Linked DNA regions of Homo sapiens: region 1 is linked to region 2. The links are contacts of gene promoters, found by promoter capture Hi-C in blood cells and fetal thymus (Javierre and others, 2016). All regions are on one chromosome and are shown on one strand. The core of a region is centred on a gene start or on the middle of the fragment in contact, and the rest is flanking DNA. Distances in the headings are between cores, read along the strand shown.

What was found. The method cuts DNA at HindIII sites, captures the fragments that hold promoters and counts their contacts. A CHiCAGO score of 5 or more calls a contact.
Region 1: a fragment that was not itself captured here is called in contact with the fragment with the promoter of H2BC8 in region 2 in 1 of 17 cell types (monocytes); the score reaches 5.4 in monocytes.

The regions. Positions count from the first base shown.
Region 1 is chr6:26,060,798-26,064,152 of GRCh38, reverse strand. No RefSeq gene overlaps it. Among named protein-coding and RNA genes, the nearest start is that of H1-2, 6.0 kb to the right of the region's middle. The HindIII fragment of the contact is 1,004 bases long and covers 1,184-2,187 here.
Region 2 is chr6:26,214,868-26,218,328 of GRCh38, reverse strand. It overlaps H2BC8 (H2B clustered histone 8), which reads left to right and starts at 1,641. Exons shown (of 1, transcript NM_003518.4): 1 at 1,641-2,129. The coding sequence starts at 1,686. The coding sequence ends at 2,066. H2AC8 (H2A clustered histone 8) reads right to left here and starts at 1,408. Exons shown (of 1, transcript NM_021052.4): 1 at 892-1,408. The coding sequence starts at 1,354. The coding sequence ends at 962. RefSeq lists enhancers at 588-697, 613-1,264, 978-1,397, 1,265-1,916, 1,828-2,177 and 2 more. The HindIII fragment of the contact is 5,797 bases long and covers 1,069-3,461 here.

The sequences.
Region 1 (3,355 bases), core at 436-2,935, 150 kb after region 2:
ACTTAAAATATGTCAGAGGTTGTTCTAAGAACTATTTAAATGTTAACTCCTTAATCCTCATAATGACCCATGAAACAGGTAGGCTTATTATTGTCTCTTTACATGTGAGAACACTGAGACACGAAAAGGTTTATTAACTCACCCAAAGTCACACAGCTGGTAAAACGGCAAAATTGAATTTGAACTCAGACATTCCAGGTTCCAAGACAGTCTAATTATTCTTTTGACTAATATACTAAGCTGCCTCTGTATTTTTCCTTGATTACTTTGTAAAAGTATGAGGAAAATATAAGTGCTTCAAGTAACCATGAAAAATATAAACAATCTATGTATCAACTGAAGCATAATTACAAATCCTTTGATAAGCAAACATAATAAAAATTTGATATCAATCAAAACTTTCATGTAATGTAAGCAGGTTGAGATGAATTCTATAGTAAAAAAGTGCAGAGTGCTGGAATACCATGCTCCTAATATATTGGCTAGGCACACCTGCCTGCTATCAAAGGTATGCACACACCTTGGATACAGAAAGTTGGGACTGGGTAGTTATGTGAGTGTCATCAGAATTCTTTCCCACTTGGGAAAGAATTGTCCATCATAAGCTTGGATGATGGACAAGGAGTGAGCTCCCAGAACAGTGATGTGGGGATACATCCTCACATCACAGTGAGAATGAGTGTTCTAGACTGTTTACACACCTACCACTCCTAAATGCACACATATAATTGCTTGCACACACACACATACACACTCATCTCTTCTCTGGTGGTCCAGCTCTATCTCTTATCATTAGGCTTCTTGGGGCTAGTACCTAGGGCCTGTATCCTTTCAGAGGCAGCTAAGGGAAGCACACATAATTAGAAAGAATGAACCAGCTTGTTGGATTTGGTCTCTTCGCATCCAGCCCTCCAAGTTAAGGAGAGTACCATCTTTCTTAGGGTCACCAAAGGAAAAAAAAAAAAAAGAAAGAAACAGAAGGATATCATACAGCAAGGATCTAATGCAAATATGCCTCAAATGAGAGGCTACTGTGTGCTGATCCCAATCCCAGGAACTGTATGCACATTATCTAATTTAATCCTCACTGTATTTCTGGGAGTATTATTCCCATTTTACAGAGAAGGAACTTGGCAGGGTAACCAAGCTCATGAATGGAGAAACTGGGATTAAATATAAAGCTTCCTTGCTCCAGAACTGCTGTCTTTCTGCTCTTCCACACTACCAGCTCAGCTGTGCTCTCTACATGCAGGCAGTTTTACAAGTTTCAGATTAGCCTGGGACTTCCAGGGTTTTGAATGGGTTAGGGAATGGGGAACTTTTGGGTTTACTTTCCATTTTTTCTTCATACATATGTAATATATAACATAAATCTATGGTATATATGATAAATATATGGCTACATATGAACTATATAATCACATATATGCATTATAAATAAATATTAATTTTATAATATTTTAAAGGTTATCAAATAAATATTAATATAAATAATTAAATAATTAATACTCAGCTTTGTTTTCCAAAGTGATAAATGCCTATATTTAGCAAAATATTTTTTGGAGGCCTGATAGTTTTTAGGAGTGTAAAGAAGTCCTGATATCTAAATGTTTAAGAACCACTATTTTAGGCTGTTGTCTTCTGTCTTATTTTCCCAGCTAGACTGGTAAATACTTGAAGGCAAACGTTTAGCCAGCACATTAACATTTTATGTTTTTATTCTTTTGTGCTCTCAGTGGCTGTGTCTTTTCTATCGATTTCTCACACTGTATGATGGTTATATTTGTCTGTATCTGTCCCACCAGGTATAAGTTCTTGAGAGGACACACTGCTAGGCTGATCTTAGTTTTTATTATTTCTCCTGGTGTCCTGTGCTTAACAAGTGCTCATTAAGTGTGTAAAAACACAGCACAGTAAAAAACTAGACATTAAAAAATAATGTCAACCAATCTATTGAAATTTGCATTTCCATGTTTCTTCCAATATAGTCATTGTGTCAGGTTATGTACTTATTCTGATGAAGACTATTGCCTAATATACGTTTGCATCTTGTGCTTTATAACTGCCTTCATATAGACACAGATTGAGAAGGTGTAAAAATGTGCATATCCTCACAATTGACAAATTCTTATCCTTTGAGGGTAGGTTTGACTTTCTGAAATGCTTTGACATCATTTGAAAGAAGCTTGAAGAATAAGATAGCTGTTAATGACCCAGTTTCCTATGTCACTTATACAATTATAATGGCAATTTCAAAATGTTAGGTAAATATATTTTGCAATATATTGTTCCTTTTGTAATACTCTCTATGTATTTATTTATATTTTTAAATTTTATATTTATGTATTTATTTTTCTGGACAGAGTCTTGCTCTGTTGCCCAGGTTAGAGTGAAGTGTTGTGATCATAGCTCTCTGCAACTTCAAACTGCTTGGCAAAAGTGATCCTCCTGCCTCAGCCTCATGAGTAGAGTAGCGGGAACTACAGGCGCATGCCACTGCACCCAGCTAATCACTATTTATTATGCTCCTACTGTGTGCTTTAGTATATTTTCTGTTGTTTTCTGCAACCCATTTTGAGGGCGTGTTAGGGAATACAGATGCAGTAACTTTCGTCTCAGCCCTTGAGGTGAGGAAATATTTAGCCTCAGGTTTAATCTAATTGTTGGCCATTTGCCTTCAAAGATTGAAATATGAGCAAAACTGTGGCTCTGGGTTATATGTTAAAAAAAAGTTTATGGGGCTGAAGCCAGGCAACAGACAAGAGCCCCTACAATCTTATTTAGGCTGAAAATATCCTGGAGTCCCTGTATTGTTGGTCTCAAGCAGATAGCAACACTAACACTTACTCTTTGAGGCAGGCACTGCCAGTGGGGTGGCTGTTATTATTAGCTTCATTAATTGGTGAGTCAGGAAAAAACAGCTTTAAATCATTCAAAGTTCTGGCCTATACAGGATTTAGTAATATTAGGTTAGCTACATCCAAAAGATGACAGAACCCTACTCTAAGGCTGGGCTTGGTGGTTCACACCTATAATCTCAAAACTTTGGGAGGCTGAGGCAGGAGGATCACTTGGTGCCAAGAGTTTGAGACCAGCCTGAGCAACATAGTGAGACCCCTGTCTCTATCAAAAACAAAGAACTCTAATTGGCATAGTAGAAGGAAAAAGTGAAAGAAAAACCAGCTGTCACCCTCATTCCTTACACCTGTCCTAACAACTCCTCTCACTATCCTTTGAATATATCTTGGCTGTTTGAGTCTCTCTCTAGCCCCATTACTGCTGTTTGGACTTGACATTTTGCTCTGCATTTTTAACTTTTCTACCAGGGTTTCCAGACCCTGAAGAGTGTGGCATG
Region 2 (3,461 bases), core at 392-2,891:
TCCTGGGCTCAAGCGATTCTTCTGCCTTAGTCTTTCAAATTGCTGGGATTACAGGTCTGACCTAGGGCGTCAGGCCGTTACTGCTTAGTTTCGTTTAGTGTTTATTTTAGAATACTGTGTTAATTGCTCCTTTTGAAAAGAGAAATCCAACAAACACAATTCTCACTAGAGGAATGTAGTCTTTTTTTTTTTTTTTTTTTTTGAGACGTAGTCTTGCTCTGTTACCCAGGCTGGAGTGCAATAGCGTGATCTCGGCTCACTGCAGCCTCTGCCTCCCGGAGTCAAGCGATTCTCCTGCCTCAGCCTCCCAAGTTGCTGGGACTACAGATGCACACCACCACGCCCGGCTACTTTTTGTATTTGTTTAGTAGAGACGGGCTTTCATTATGTTGGGCAGGCTGATTTCGAACTCCTGACCCTATGATCCGCCCTCCTTGGCCTCCCAAAGTGTTGGGATTACAGGCATGAGCCACTGAGCCCAGCCGGAATGCAGTCATCTTTAAAACTTAAAAAGCCCGCCCTGAAATGCTAATGGGCAGCTATCCTTCTTTGTTCTCTCGTTTCTGTATTAATATTTCACCCTTTTCTGACAAGTGCACATGAATAAACAGCCTGTGTATTAATGATAAATTTGTATACACAGCATGGACCTATACACAAAATAACGCAGTGAAACCTTGGTGTCACAACCTCGGTTTCTATTCTTGTATACCTTTATAAACGCATTTTTACTGCAAAGAAACACCAGTAAGATAAATTAGTGCATGAAATGTGAGCAAGGATTTCAATAAAGAACTGACCAGTAACGTCAGAAGCGTTCGTTAAAAATTAGGACAGTGAACATTGAGATTTCAGGCATCGTATGTGTATTCCAGCACTTTACAGAAAAGGTGGGTGGCTCTGAAAAGAGCCTTTGGTTTCTGGGACTCGGGATCACTGACGGATTTGACTAGTAATCATTTCACTTGCCCTTGGCCTTATGGTGGCTCTCCGTCTTCTTAGGCAGCAATACGGCCTGGATGTTGGGCAGGACACCGCCCTGCGCGATGGTCACGCGACCTAGAAGCTTATTTAGCTCCTCGTCGTTGCGGATGGCTAGCTGCAGGTGGCGCGGGATGATGCGGGTCTTCTTATTGTCGCGAGCCGCGTTGCCAGCTAGCTCTAAGATCTCGGCCGTCAGATATTCCAGCACCGCTGCCAGGTACACTGGAGCGCCGGCCCCGACTCGTTCGGAGTAGTTGCCTTTGCGGAGGAGGCGGTGCACACGGCCAACTGGAAACTGAAGACCGGCCCTGGAAGAACGCGTTTTAGCTTTTGCCCGAGCTTTGCCGCCTTGCTTTCCACGTCCAGACATAGTGGCTTCCTAACAGCAGAAGAACTAACAATCCACTGAATAAAGAAAAAGAATGGGCTCGATGGAGGAATAAGAAGCTAGTTATAGTCATCGGTAGAATTGTGAAAGGCGCAATTTGATTGGTTAAAATTGTTCTTTGACGAGCCAACCAATTAGAAAGGAAATAAGGTGAAGGCTATTTTACATGTATGCGTCACTAACACATTGCCCAATCAGAGCTGGATATTTTGAATTCTTTATTTGCATGAAAGGCCTATAAAAGGAGAGACTCTAGACACGAGCTTTTATTTAAGTGCGTTCATTCTCACTGCTGTTATTGTTTTCTGACAGCATGCCTGAACCAGCTAAGTCAGCTCCTGCTCCGAAGAAGGGTTCCAAGAAGGCTGTGACCAAGGCGCAGAAGAAGGATGGCAAGAAGCGCAAGCGCAGTCGTAAGGAGAGCTACTCCGTGTATGTGTACAAGGTGCTAAAACAGGTTCACCCCGATACTGGCATCTCATCCAAGGCCATGGGCATCATGAATTCCTTCGTTAACGACATCTTCGAACGCATCGCAGGCGAGGCTTCCCGTCTGGCCCACTACAACAAGCGCTCGACCATTACCTCCAGGGAGATCCAGACCGCCGTGCGTCTGCTGCTTCCCGGAGAGCTGGCCAAGCACGCAGTGTCCGAAGGTACCAAGGCTGTCACCAAGTATACAAGCTCCAAGTAAATGTGTGCTTAGGTGCTTTAAAACTCAAAGGCTCTTTTCAGAGCCACTCAAGTCTCACATAAAGAGCTTTAATATTGAATTTCACCGTTTTCTAGGGAATAATTTTTCCGATTTTGTAATCCCAGCACTTTGGGAGGCCGAGGCGTGCGGATCGAGACCAGTTTGGCTAACGTGGTTAAATCTCGTTTCTACTAAAAATACAAATATTAGCCGGGCGTGGGGCAGTCGCGTGTCATCCCAGAGACTCGGGAGGCTGCCGCAGGAGAATCACTTAAACCCAGCAAGCAAAGGTTGCAGTGAAAAGACATGGCGCTTTTGCATTCTAGCCTGGGCGACAAAGGCGAGGCTTCGTCTCAAAAAAAATTGATCAGGAGATACTCCTGTTCTGTGTTGGCAAGATCCTGTAATCCTAGCACTTTGGGAGGTCGATGCATGAGGCTTTCTTCAGCTCAGGAGTTAACAGATTTGCCTGGGCAACATAGAACTCGTCTCTGCAAAAAAATGAAGCTAACCAGGTGTGACGGCTTGCGTCTGTACTATCATTTACTCGGTAGGCTGAGGTGGTAGGATAGCTTAAACTCTCGGGCTAGAGACTGCAGGAACATGTGAATACGCTAGTGCAATTCCAGCCTGGGCAACACTGGAAAGGGTAGGAAGAGTAGTCTTTGGGTCCCTAAAGATCACCTGATAACAAGTTTGACTTTTCTGAGCACTCTTGTGGAGTTTGTTGTGGAGGGAATACCATGGGCATTGGCAATGTAAAGTTGATCTAAAAAATCTCGTTTTCCGCCGTGCGCGGTGGCTCACGCCTCTAATCCCATCACTTTGGGAGGCCGAGACGGGCGGATCACGAGGTCAGGAGGTCGAGACCATCCTGGCTAACACTGTGAAACCCTGTCTCTACTAAAAAAATACAAACAAAATTAGCCGGGCGTGGTGGCACTCACCTGTAGTTTCAGCTACTCTGGAAGCTGAGGCTGGAGAGTCACTTGAACCCGGGAGGCGGAGGTTGCAGTGATCAGAGATCGCGCCACTGCACTCCATCCTGGGCGAAAGAGCTAGATTCCATCTCATAAAAAAAAAAAAAAAAAAAAAAAAAAAAAAATTACAGTTTTGGCTGGCTGGGCGCAGTGGCTCTCGCCTGTAATCCCAGCATTTTGGGAGGCGAGGCTGGTGGATCACTTGAGGTCAGGAGTTCAAAAACAGCCTGACCCACATGGTGAAACCCCGTATCTACTAAAAATAACAAAATTAGCCGGGCGTGGTGGCGCATGCCTATGTTACCCCAGCTACTTCGGAGACTGAGGCAGGAGAAACGCTTGAAACCGGGAGGCGGGGGTTGCAGTGAGCCAAGATCCCGCCATTTCATTCCAGCCTGGACAACAAGAACGAAAC